Linked DNA regions of Homo sapiens: region 2 is linked to region 1. Evidence: promoter capture Hi-C in 16 types of primary human blood cells and fetal thymus (Javierre and others, 2016). All regions are on one chromosome and are shown on one strand. The core of a region is centred on a gene start or on the middle of the fragment in contact, and the rest is flanking DNA. Distances in the headings are between cores, read along the strand shown. Region 1 holds the start of LINC01063 (long intergenic non-protein coding RNA 1063). Region 2 overlaps PCYT1A (phosphate cytidylyltransferase 1A, choline).

Evidence for each region. Contacts are between HindIII fragments. The CHiCAGO score rates a contact against its expected background, and 5 or more counts as called.
Region 2: a contact is called between a fragment that was not itself captured here and the fragment with the promoter of LINC01063 in region 1, in 3 of 17 cell types (naive CD4 T cells, fetal thymus and naive CD8 T cells). The highest score is 6.5, in naive CD4 T cells.

The regions. Positions count from the first base shown.
Region 1 is chr3:196,628,854-196,635,289 of GRCh38, reverse strand. LINC01063 (long intergenic non-protein coding RNA 1063) reads left to right here and starts at 2,703. Exons shown (of 2, transcript NR_132101.1): 1 at 2,703-2,902; 2 at 3,645-3,786. RefSeq lists enhancers at 1-220, 2,281-3,035 and a silencer at 2,812-2,891. The HindIII fragment of the contact is 3,065 bases long and covers 1-3,057 here.
Region 2 is chr3:196,250,792-196,257,227 of GRCh38, reverse strand. The region is part of intron 3 of PCYT1A (phosphate cytidylyltransferase 1A, choline); the gene reads left to right. Among named protein-coding and RNA genes, the nearest start is that of PCYT1A, 34 kb to the left of the region's middle. The HindIII fragment of the contact is 1,188 bases long and covers 4,570-5,757 here.

The DNA.
Region 1 (6,436 bases), core at 1,454-3,953:
GTTTGTCACTTGTGGGACTTCTCAGCCTCCCAAGGAGATCAAAGGGAGCCTTGGCTTCTGCCCTCCACCCCGACCCCTGACTGCTTTTCCAGATGGCAACCTATTCAAGACCAGGGGAGGGGGCTACAGCTGGCCTGTGAGAGGGGACACAACTCGGTGTGCAAGGGAGCCATGGGAGGAGCCAGGGCTGCTCCCCACTCCAGACAGGTCTGTGAGAGAGGAGCACAGGGATTGCACCTAGCAGTGGAGCCATGGGGACCTGGAACTGGCGGCTCACCCCGGGCAAAATCATGGTCCTCTTGCTCCTGCCTCTGGGGTTCTCCGCTGTGCTGTGGGCTCTCAGCCGCTGGCCACAGACAGGCCCTTCACCTTGGTGGCGGAGCAGTGAGCTAGATAGAGCCTCCCCAACTTCTCCCAGCCCCCACTTCTCCAGCCCCCACTTCTCCAGCCTCCACTTCTCTAGCCCCCACTTCTCCAGACCCCACTTCTCCCAGCCCCCACTTCTCTAGCCCCCACTTCTCCCAGTCCCCACTTCTCCCAGCCCCCACTTCTCTAGCCCCCACTTCTCCCAGTCCCCACTTCTCCAGCCTCCACTTCTTCAGCCCCCACTTCTCCAGACCCCAGTTCTCCAGCCCCCACTTCTCCCAGCCCCCCCTTTCCAGCCCCCAGTTCTCCAGCCCCCAGTTCTCCTAGCCCCGACTTCTCCAGCCTCCACTTCTCCTAGCCCCCACTTCTCCAGTTCTCCAGCCCCCACTTCTCCAGCCTCAGCACATGGCAGGGAGGGGATTTCCTTTGGGGCCTTAACTGGGAATTGTTCTCTTGCCCCACGTCAGCTGGCTGCTGGGGGAGAGTGTTCAGTAGTTTCATTTCCCTCATTTGGAACGGAGTTTTTAAGAACCAAGAATTAAAACCGGAAAGAGGAGAGCCCACCGCCCACATTGGTACCACTCAACGCCTCATGATGCCCATCCTGGAAAAGCGGAGGGGTCAATGCAGAGGCTGAAGGCAGTGCGGGGGTGGGGTGGGGCTGGGGGCTCTTCCCCGCGTGTTTCTCCTCCTGGAGGAGGTGGCGGTCTCCAATCCTGAGATCAGCTCCTCTAGCTCCCTGCTGCCCATGGCCTCCCGCAGCCACTGACTCCGGTGACTGACCTCTGTGGGGACACTGCCTCTTCCTGTCCTGAAACACCGACAGTATCAACATATGATCAAAGAGTCCAGGTGGTGCAAAGATAACATGGAAGTGTCCTATCAGTGCCAGGGCGTGGAGTGGGACAGCGAGGGGAAGGGGCACCCATAACTAACCATGGTCTGGTCCAGGGCCGAAAGGACCTTGGGGAAAATGGGCACGCGGTGCTGGGAGAGTCCTGGGAGCGGGAGAGCACGAAGGGCACAGCCGCTGGGACAGTGCAGCCCAAACTTTCTGGAAGTGTGAACTGGACCCTCCTGGGGTGGGACCTGGCATGGGGTAGGACACTAGGGATCCAACAAGGAAAATAAGGCCATGCCAAGGAGGAGGCTGCAAGGGGATGGCTTTGTGGCTGACTCTGTCCAGCGTTTCCCATGGGGCGTCCCAGCTCATCTTTGCAGTTTTGCCTTCCCCCTGGACAGTGAGTCCTGCCAGGCAGGGTCTCTGGCTTGTTCACATTTGTATATATCCCCAAGAATACTTGGTCTAGCACCTTGTAGGGGCTCAGCACAGGCTAAAGTGTCATTTGCTCTAGAGCTGTTGGAGAGGTTGAGGACTTAGTCATTTGTGGTCATTGATAAGTCCTCTTTCTTTTCTTTCTTTGCTTTTTTCTTTTCTTCTTCTTCTTCTTCTTCTTTTTTTTTTTGACGGAGTTTCGCTCTTGTTGCCCAGGCTGGAGTACAGTGGCACGATCTCGGCTCACGGCAACCTCCGCCTCCTGGGTTCAAGCGATTCTCCTGCCTCAGCCTCCCAAGTATCTGGGATTGCAGGCATGTACCACCACGCCTGGCTAATTTTTGTATTTTTAGTAGAGACAAAGTTTCACCATGTTGTCCAGGGTGGTCCCGAACTCCTGACCTTAGGCGATCCGCCGGCCTCAGCCTCCCAAAGTGCTGGGATTACAGGTGTGAGCCACCGCGCCCGGCCGAGAAGTCCTTTCTCATAATTGGTGAATATAAATCCCGGAGTCCTCACCACAGGCTCCGGGCCCTGCATGATCCGGGCCCCGCTGGATTCGGCCCCTTCTCTGCTCCCTCTGACTTCACGCCCTATCACTCTGCTCCTCACTTCCTCTGCAAAAAGCCTAGCACCCTCCGGCAGCTCCTCCTTGGAGCCGGCTCTGGCTCCAAACAAAAGATACCCAAACAAAGGCAAGAAAGTGGTGAATTCCTAGAACCGGGAGGGCGCGGGCTCGGGGGCCAGCTGCAGGTTCCTGAGACGTGGGAGAGGAGGAGGAGTGAACACAGACCGCAGGCCAGTGAGTGGAGCAAGGTGCAAACTGCCAGAGAGCGGAGGCCCGGCCCGAAGACCCCAGACTCGCCTCCCGCCCACCCGCCCCCACGTGAAAAGGCACCAGATCCTAAGCGCTAACAGCGAAGGGCGGGACCGGCAGAGGGCTCCCTGCGGCGCCTCTCGAGGCGCGAGCGACCGGAAGGAAAGGCGGGAGGCTCAGCAGCGCGGCGGTGGGAGGAGCGCGCCCTTGCTGATTTCATGGAGGCCCGGGGCCGCGGGCGCTGTTCTCCTTCCTGTGCCGAGTGTGGTTTGCTATCAAGCGGTGGCAGTTCAGCCACAATCAGGGGCAGGGGGAGGGAGAGGCCCCCCGAAGAGGCAGAGGCCCTGCCTCGGCCGCCCTGAGCCTGGAAGGTGATTGGCTAGAGCGACTCCCGGCCGGGAGCGGAATGAATGGCGGGGACCGGGGCCTCTGGGTGGTGCGAGGTATGTTGGGAGGTGCGGGTTTTAATCGGCAGTTGGGCAGTTTAGCCACACGGGCCGGGGGCAGGGTGGGGCTGGCAGAGAAGGGAAGCTGGTGAGGCGGAAACAGGGAGGAGTAGGTTTTTCTTTCTTCTCACACCGGCAAACCAGAGGAAGCTTAACCTATCGGAACCAATTACTAGCATGAACCTAGCACTGAGCTCAAAGGCTGAATTTTAGACCTTTCACTGCTCCCATGCACACCCTGCCTGGTCACGGCTTCTCACCGTCTTTACCAAGATCAGTCACACCTGTGAAGCCCTGCTCATTCATCTCGCCAATTCCCTTCTACAGGACCCAGTGCCCAGACGCCACTACCCAATTCCCCCAGCCTTGGAATCTCCTCCTCTCTGCCAGGTCCTCACCACTGTGTTCTTGGCGATTTCACTAAAGATTCACCTCCTCAAAACTGGCCCCAATTAGTCCCACCCTGTTCAACCTACTATCTCCACTTAACGGCAAATGGCACCTGACACCCTCAGAAGTCAGACTCCTGGCAACTACAATTACCCAAAATACGGCAGAAAACTGTCTCGAAGCCCAGGCAACTGATTCTTGGGAGAAGCTGACTCATGCTTGGCCTCTACCTAGAGAAATAATTCATATTTAGAGCTGTGAGAATAGATAGCAAAGAGAGAGTAAGAAAAAAGATGCATAAATATGTACTAACACGTTTTTATAATTGCTTTTGTGTTCTTCCTGACAGCATCATGTTGCCTTTTAATATGGAGCATGTGCCATAGCTCTCCAGGAGAACCCCTCTGTGTCACAGCGAACCTCAGTCACTGACACTCAAAAGAAGGAATTATTTCAACTCAATAATAAACAAATAACCCTATTTTAAAATCAGCAAAGGGTGTTACCACATTTCCACAGAAGGTATACAAATGGCCAGTAATCATGTGAAAAGATGCTTGATATCATTTGTCATCAGGGAAATGCAAATCAAAACTGCAATGAGAGGCCAGGCGCTGTGGCTCACACCTGTAATCCCAGCGCTTTGGGAGGCTGAGGCAGGTGGATCGCTTGAGCCCAGGAGTTCAAACCCAGCCTGACCAACATGGTGAAACCCCGTCTCTACAAAAAAATACAAAAATTAGCCGGGCACAGTGGCCTGTGCCTGTAATCCCAGCTACTCAGGAGGCTGAGGCAGGAGACTCACTTGAACCCAGGAGGCAGAGGTTGCAGTGAGCCGAGATTGTGCCATTGCACTCCAGCCTGGGTGACGGGAGTGAAACCCTGTCTAAAAAAACCCCAAAAACAAAAACTACAATGACATATCACTTTATATGCACTAGGATGCCTAGCATCAAAAGGTCAAATAAAACAAGTATGTGGAGAAACTGCGACCCTCATACACTGCTGGTGGGAATGTAAGATGGTGCAGAAACTTTGGAAAGGAGTCTGGCAGCTCCTCAAAAGGTAAAAGCATGGAGTTATCAGGTGGCTCACAAATTCCATTCCTAGGGACCTAAAAGAAATGAAGACATGCTATACAAACACCTGAAGACATGCTATACTAACACCTGAAGCCATGCTATACTAACACCCGAACATGAATGTTCAGAACAGCATCATTCATGATTACCAAGAAGTGGAAAAAACCCAAATGTCCATCAACTAACTGACGAGTGGATACAGTATATCCATGCAGTGGAATTTCTTTTTCTCTTTCTTTCTTTCTTTTCTTTCTCTTTCTTTCTTTCTTTTTCTTTCCTTCTTTCTTTCTTTCTTCTTTCTTCTTTTTTTTTTTTTTGATGGGATCTCTTTCTGTCACCCAGGCTGGAGTTCAGTGATGCTATCTCAGCTCACTGCAACCTCCTCCTGGGCTCAAGCGATCCTCCCACCTCAGCCTCCCCAGTAGCTGGGACCACAGGTGCCTGCCACCACACCCGACTAATTTTTTGTATTTTTGGTAGAGATGGGGTTTCTGCCCAGGCTGGTCTTGAACTTCTGAGCTCAAGCGATCCACCCGCCTCAGCCTCCCAAAGTGCTGGGAATACTGGCTTGAGCCACTGCGCCCAGCTATGCAGTGGAACATTTCTCAGCCATAGAAGAGAATAAAGTACTGATACATGCTACAACAGGGACAAACTTTGAAAACATTATGCTAAGTGAAAAAAGTCAGTCACAAATGATCACATGTTACATGATTTCATTTACATGAATTGTTCAGAGAAGGCAAATCTGTAGAGAGAGAAAGATTAGTGGTTACCTAGGTCTGGGGGTTTGGGGGAAAATGGGAGTGACTGGTAATGGGTATGGGGTTTCCTTTTGAGGTTATGAAAATGTTCTAAAATTGTGGTGATGGTTTCATGAGTATGTGAACATGCTAAAAGCAATTGCCTTGTACACATTAAATGCGTAAATTATATGGTAGATGAGTTATAGCTCAATAAAGCTGTTCTATAAAAATAAACCACTGGGCACTGTGGCTCACGCCTGTAATCCCAGCACTTTGGGAGGCCGAGGCAGGCAGATCACCTGAGGTCAGGAGTTCGAGACCAGCCTGACCAACATGGTGAAACCCTGTTTCTACTAAAAATACAAAATTAGTTGGGTGTGGTGGTGCATGCTTGTAATCCCAGCTACTCAGGAGGCTGAGACAGGAGAATCACTTGAACCTGGGAGGTGGAGGTTGCAAATGAGCCGAGATCACGCCAGAAAAAAAGAATAGGTTAACATAGACTCAGTATACAAGAAAGGGAAGTGTGGCGGCTCACATCTGTAATCCCCGTGAAGTGGGATTTGTTTAACATTTTTTGAAAATCAGAATAAAAAAGATTAGTGCTTAAACTGATACTCTCTAGTTATTTGGAAAATACATTTATGTAAAACATGTGTTTTCCTATTATAGTCTAAATTAGAACATTGGAGCACCTAGCAACATCTTAAAGCTAGTTAAACAGAATGACATCATATTTTGACCATACTGTTTTGAAATTGTGCAGTTTCTCTTTGTATCTCTAGAGTGATTCATGAATATGTATTTGGCTTCTCAAATTAAAAATATTTCACTGCTATTGAACTATTCCTTTAATATCTGTATAAATGTTTTTAAGTATTATATTTTGAGGATTTTGAAGCTTTAGGTTTCTTATTTAAAATACAATTATCGGCCAGGCATGGTGGCTCACACCTGTAATCCCAGCACTTTGGGAGGCCGAGGCGGGTGAATCACAAGGTCAAGAGATCAAAACCATTCTGGCCAACATGGTGAAACCCCGTCTCTACTAAAAATACAAAAAAAGTTTAGCCAGGCGTGGTCGTGGGCACCTGTAGTCCCAGCTACTCAGGAGGCTGAAGCAGGAGAATGATGTGAACCCAGGAGGCGTAGGTTGCAGTGAGCTGAGATCGCACCACTGCACTCCAGCCTGGCAACAGAGCGAGACTCTGTCTCAAAAAAATACAATAATAAAATAAAATAAAAAATAAAATAAAATATAGAATCATCTGGGCCAGGCACGGTGGCCCATGCCTGTAATCCCAGTACTTTGG
Region 2 (6,436 bases), core at 3,914-6,413, 380 kb after region 1:
TTGACACATAAATTACTAATATATATTCGAGATGCTTTTCTTATGTGGGGCAATTGGTTTTAGAGATCATTATAAAAAGAAACTTCCAAGAGCATTTGTTATGAATACAAAGTCCTATAGGCAAATATTCTTTCTTCTCTGTAAATTCCCCAATTCTCCCTTTTTTTCCAATCCTTTTTCACTTCTTCTGATTACTAAGTGTTCTCTCTACCCTGTAAATATAGGACTGAACTAAGACTCAGACAGACACCAGGGAATAAGAGGGATTTATAGCCACAAATCTGTGCATTTGCAGCATATACAGTATATTTGTGGTTACTTCTTAATTGTGTTGGTATGTTTGCTCTCTGTAGTAACTGAAGAACAGTGAAATACAAATAGAAGTGGGCCAGGAGTGGTGGCTCACACCTGTAATCCCAGCACTTTGGACACCAAGGCGGGCAGATCATCACTTGATGTCAGGAGTTCGAGACCAGCCTGGTTAACATGGTGAAACCCCTTCTCTACTAAAAATACAAAAGTTAGCTGGGCGTGGTGGTGGGCACCTGTAGTCCCAGCTACTCGGGAGGCTAAGGCACGAGAATTATGTGAACCTGGGAGGCAGAGATTGCAGTGAGCTGAGATCATGCCACTGTACTCCAGCCTGGGTGACAGAGCGAGACCCTGTCTCAAAACAAACAAACAAAAAACAAATAGAAGTGATGTACAGTGTCATACTGGGAAATTTTTTTTTCTTTTGAGGCAGAGTCTCACTCTGTTGCCCAGGCTGGCATGCAGTGGCACAATCTTGGCTCAGTGCAACCTCCTCCTCCCGGGTTCAAGCAATTCTTCTGCCCCAGCCTCCCGAGTAGCTGGGATTACAGGTGTGCACCACCACGCCTGGCTAATTTTTGTATTTTTAGTAGAGACGGGGTTTCACCATGTTGGCCAGGCTGGCCTCGAACTCCTGACCTCGTGATCCACCCACCTCAGCCTCCCAAAGTGCTGGGATTGCAGGCGTGAGCCACCGCGCCGGCCAATGCCGGGAATTTTAACACCTATCCTTTGGCCTTATCTTGGGTATATGTATTGTGGGTTTGGGGTCCTCAACAAAAAAGAGGCTAATTCCAGAGAATCCTTTCCTTTTGAAAAAATGTGTAGATATAGTTCATATTGATCACAACCTTCTGATTCATGATAAGATTTTTGAGTTTGGCTTCCCTTATTTGGGTAATAGGTAGGCTCCTGGAGGCAGGGTAAAATGACAAAGAAAACCAGAGACTATGGATTGTGTAATGGTAGCCAGGTCTAACTTCAAAACGCCAGAAGATAGTTCAGGGTTCACATTCAGATGTGATAGTAGAGGCTATTGAAAGCAAGAACTTTTTACATACTCTCTAATGACACACATTTACAATCAGCTATTCATTTAGATTTGATCTGATGGGTTGCATTATCCAGTTTGTTGCTAATTTGTCTATATATCATTTGTGGTACATAAAATTTGAAAATATGTGTACTGTTTCCAAGTTGATCTTTTGTTTTGTTTTGTTTTTGAGACAGAGTCTCGCTTGTCAACCAGGCTGGAGTGCGGTGGTGTGATCTCAGCTCACTGCAACATTTCCCTTCTGGGTTCAAGCAGTTCTCAAATCTCAGCCTCCCAAGTAGCTGGGATTACAGGAGTGAGCCACCGTGCCGGGCCTGTTTCCAAGTTTTAAAGCTTATAATTAACAAGTCCTGACTGGTATAATTGTTTTTAATTTTAGAATTATAGGATTTTACAAATAAGTCATTTTCAAGATTATCTACTTTATAGTTTCTTCATTAAGTACATAAAGCAATTAAGGTCCATAGTAACCAAGAAGCGAAGGCTTCCCCTACAGTAAAACGGATGATTAGTGGAATAGAATTGCAGCTCAAACCTCACCCGGGAATGGTGCTACTCATTGTAAGCATTAGAATAGAAGGCCTTCAGCAAAATAATTGTATTTTTGGTGGAACAAACAGCCACAAATTAGCCTATAAATTTGCCAGCTTAATTTGAACTCTGGTTTTTCTCTTAGATCTCATTTTGTCTGACTGTTTTATGTTAAATCACCAAGTAGGTAACTGCATTCATGCCAGTGCAGGACAAGGAATAAAGCAATAAAGAATGCACCTGCTCTAGTGAAGTTTCAACACCTCCCTCCTGCTCCCCAGGTTTTTACGAGGGAGGTTGTATAATCTAGGAGAAGATTCTCTACTTAGAGAAAAACAAATATGATTTGAGAGACAAGAAGGTCAGCTCTAGGAATCTTTTGGGAGATGAAAAAAATCAGCAATATGTTTAACTCAGAGAAAGGAAGGAAAAGGGAGAGTGTGAAGGGCAATGGAAATGTTAGGAACAGAATGTTTCGGTGGTAGGTATTTGGGAGAGTAAATCTATCAAAAGAGATCATTAACTGAAACCCAGGTTTCTTCTGCCTAAAGGAGGACATATGGTTACTTAGTCACCAGTGGTGCAGCGTATAATTCATAACCCACATAAACCATATAATTTATCATCCAAATCAGGACGGTTTTGAGCATGAAAGGGAGTTGCTGTTAATAATATACAGAGGTTGAGTGTGGTGGCTCATGCCTATAATCCCAGCACTTTGGGAGGCCAAGGCAGAAGGATTGCTTGAGGCTAGGAATTCAAGGCCAGCCTGGGCAATACAGTGAGATCCCATCTCTACAAAAATTTTAATAATTAGCCAGGTGTGGTGGTGTGCATCTATAGTCCCAGCCACTCAGGAGGCTGAGGTGAGAGGATTGTTTGAGCCCAGGAGGTCTAGACCACGGCAAGTCATGATTGCACCACTGCACTTCAGCCTGGGTGACAGAGACCCTATCTTAAAAAATAAATAAATACATAAATAAAAATTAAAAAAATATATATATAGGCCAGGTACAGTGACTCACACCTGTAATCCCAGCACTTTGGAAAGCTGAGGTGGGTGGATCATAAGGTCAGGAGATCGAGACCATCCTGGCTAACATGGTGAAACCCCGTCTCTACTAAAAATATAAAAAATTAGCCAGGCGTGGTGGCACACACCTGTAATCCCAGCTATTCAGGAGGCTGAGACAGGAGAATCACTTGAGCCTGGGAGGCAGAGGTTGCAGTGAGCCTAGGTCACGTCACTGCACTCTAGCCTGGGCGACAGAGTGAGACTCCGTCTCAAAAAAAAAAAATCTATCTATCTATCTATATAACATATATACATATGTAATATATGCATAATATATAAATGATATTAAATATGTATTATATAGTACATTATATAATAGAAACAGGAAAAATTATATTAAAAGTATATAATTTATATAAATATGATTATATATACTATAACATACATTAAATCAGGGGTGTGTTTATCCTGGCCAATAGCCACTTGGTAAAAGAATGGCTAACGCTAGCTTTCTTCCCAGACTAGTTCAACAGTGACCCCTTCTGGCCGTTTGGTTAATATATCAGCCTGGGTTTGCCAAAGACTTGGGATGGAATGGTGGCCAGTTGAGATGTTGGTAGGCTGGGGAAGCACTGGAGAGAGCAAGAGGCGCATCTGGGATTGGTCTGAGAAAAGGTTCAGTGATCTACTTGGCCTAACATAGGATGATTAGCTGTGCTGCAAGCAGCCACTTGATCAACAGCATTCTGTGCTATTGCCACCATCCAGGCAATGTGTTTCTTGAGCAAAATTTCCCTGCTGTATGCTGTCTAGTAGCAAAGAAACAACAAAGTAGTCTTCATTTGTATATTCTATCCCTTGTGTTTCAGGATCGAATAGTGTGAGATCATAGCCCCTCTGGACTTGTTTAGGGAAAATGGAACTATGTTAGTTACTTCATGGACGTGACTTCTGGGATACTTCAATTTTTTTTTTTTTTGAGACAGAGTCTTGCTCTGTCTCGCAGGCTGGAGTGCAGTGGCGCGATCTCAGCTCACTGCAACCTCTGCCTCCTGGGTTCAAGAGATTCTCCTGCCTCAGCCTCCCGAGTAGCTGGGATTACAGGCGCCCACCACCATACCCAGCTAATTTTTGTATTTTTAGTAGACACAGGGTTTCACCATGTTGGCCAGGCTGGCCTCAACTGCTGACCTCAGGTGATCCACCTGCCTTGGCCTCCCAAAGTGCTGGGATTACAGGCGTGAGCCACTGTGCCCGGCCCAAAAATCTTTTTAATGTATTATTTTTTAATAGGCATAGAGCCAATGCAGTGATTTCTGGGACATAGAAGGGGGATTATATGCTCAAATTTTGTTTTATTTTGCTTTGTCTTATTAAAAATTATCTTTTTAAAAATATTTTTTTCTTCTTTTTTTTTAGTTGACACATGCTGGCAGTAAAAAATAATTTTAATAGAGATAGGGTTTCACTGTGTTGCCCAGGCTGGTCTCAGACTCCTGGGCTCAAGCAGTCCTCCTACCTTGGTCTCCCAAGGTGCTGGAATTACAGGTGTGAGCTACTGTACCCAGCCTGCTTTCTCTCATAGATGAGAAAACTGAGGCATAAGGAAGTTAAGGTTACAGAGGAAGAAAGCTGGTTGGAAAGCTTGGTCAAAGCTTGAGCTATGACCTTTCTGACTCTTAAATCCATTAATTAATTCTTAGTTTTTCATTGGATTGGTATATTTAATTTAAAATTTTTATTTCCTGTATTATAAAATCAATACAACCAGCCTGGGCTGGGCATGGTGGCTCACGCCCGTAATCCCAGAACTTCGGGAGGCCAAGGCGGGCAGATCACTTGAGGTCAGGAAATTGAGACCAGCCTGGCCAACATGGGATACGAATATAAAAATACAAAAATTATCCCGGCTTGGTGGCTTTCGCCTGTAATCCCAGTGACTTGGGAGGCTGAGGCAGGATAGTCACTTGAACCCAGGAGGCAGAGGTTGCAGTGAGCCTAGATCATGTCACCACACTCCAGCCTGGGCAACAGAGCAAGACTCCATCTCAAATAAATAAATAAATAAAAATACAACTAGCTTGGGCAACATGTGAAACCCCATCTGTACAAAAAATACAAAAATCAGCTGAGCGTAGTGGTGTGCGCTGTAGCCAGTGGGGCGTGGCGGTGTGCACTGTAGCCAGTGGGGCGTGGCGGGGTGCGCTGTAGTCTGCGGGGCGTGGCGGGGTGCGCTGTAGTCAGCGGGGCGTGGTGGTGTGCGCTGTAGTCCCAGCTTCTCGGGAGGCTGAGGCGGGAGGATCATTTGAGCCTGGGAGGTGGAGGTTTCAGTGATCTGAGACCATGCCACTGCACTCCAGCCAGGGTGACAGAGCCAGACCCTGTCTCAAAAAATCAAATCAAGTGAAATCAATACATTCCCACAGTTTAATATCCATAAAATACAAAAAGGGCATAAAGTAAAATGTCTCCCTCTCAAGACCTGTCTCACAGCCACCTGGTATCCCTATAACAGGCCACCAATATTACCCATTTCTGTGAATATCTAAGTAAATTGTTTATATATCCTCCCACCTTTTAGTGGGTGTATTATGCTATATTCAATCTTCCGTTGAAATGTAGGTCGTTTCCTGACTGTTGCTATTATAAACAGTACTGCAATGAATAACATCTATATTTACTGTGAGATAATTCCCAGAATTAGAAAAGCTGGGCCACAGCTATAAGCATTTGTCGTTTGTCTTTTGATAGATACGACCTAATTGCCCTTCTTGAAAGTTGCTGATACTCCTTTCAGCAGTGTATGATTTCTTGGTTTAAAATCTACTTATTTATGAGTAAAGCTTTTTGAAAACAAAAATTCATAAACCTCCTGAGAACTACTTTCCTTCTCCTTCATTCATTGCCCTGAAGACAGGAAGGAGATGTATCTGATCCTCAACCTCAGCATGGTGTATCTGATCCTCAGCCTCAGCATAGTGTATCTGGTCCTCAGCCTCAGCATAGTGTATCTGATCCTCAACCTCAGCATGGTGTATCTGGTCCTCAACCTCAGCATGGTGTATCTGGTCCTCAGCCTCAGCATGGTGTATCTGGTCCTCAGCCTCAGCATGGTGTATCTGGTCCTCAGCCTCAGCATGGTGTATGTGATCCTCAGCCTCAGCATGGTGTATCTGGTCCTCAGCCTCAGCATGGTGTATCTGATCCTCAGCCTCAGCATGGTGTATCTGGTCCTCAGCCTCAGCATGGTGTATCTGGTCCTCAGCCTCAGCATGGTGTATCTGGTCCTCAGCCTCAGCATGGTGTATCTGGTCCTCAGCCTCAGCATAGGGTATCTGGTCCTCAACCTCAGCATAGTGTATCTGATCCTCAGCATAGTGTATCTGGTCCTCAGCCTCAGCATGGTGTATCTGGTCCTCAGCCTCAGCATAGTGTATCTGATCCTCAACCTCAGCATGGTGTATCTGATCCTCAGCATAGTGTATCTGGTCCTCAACCTCAGCATAGTGTATCTGATCCTCAGC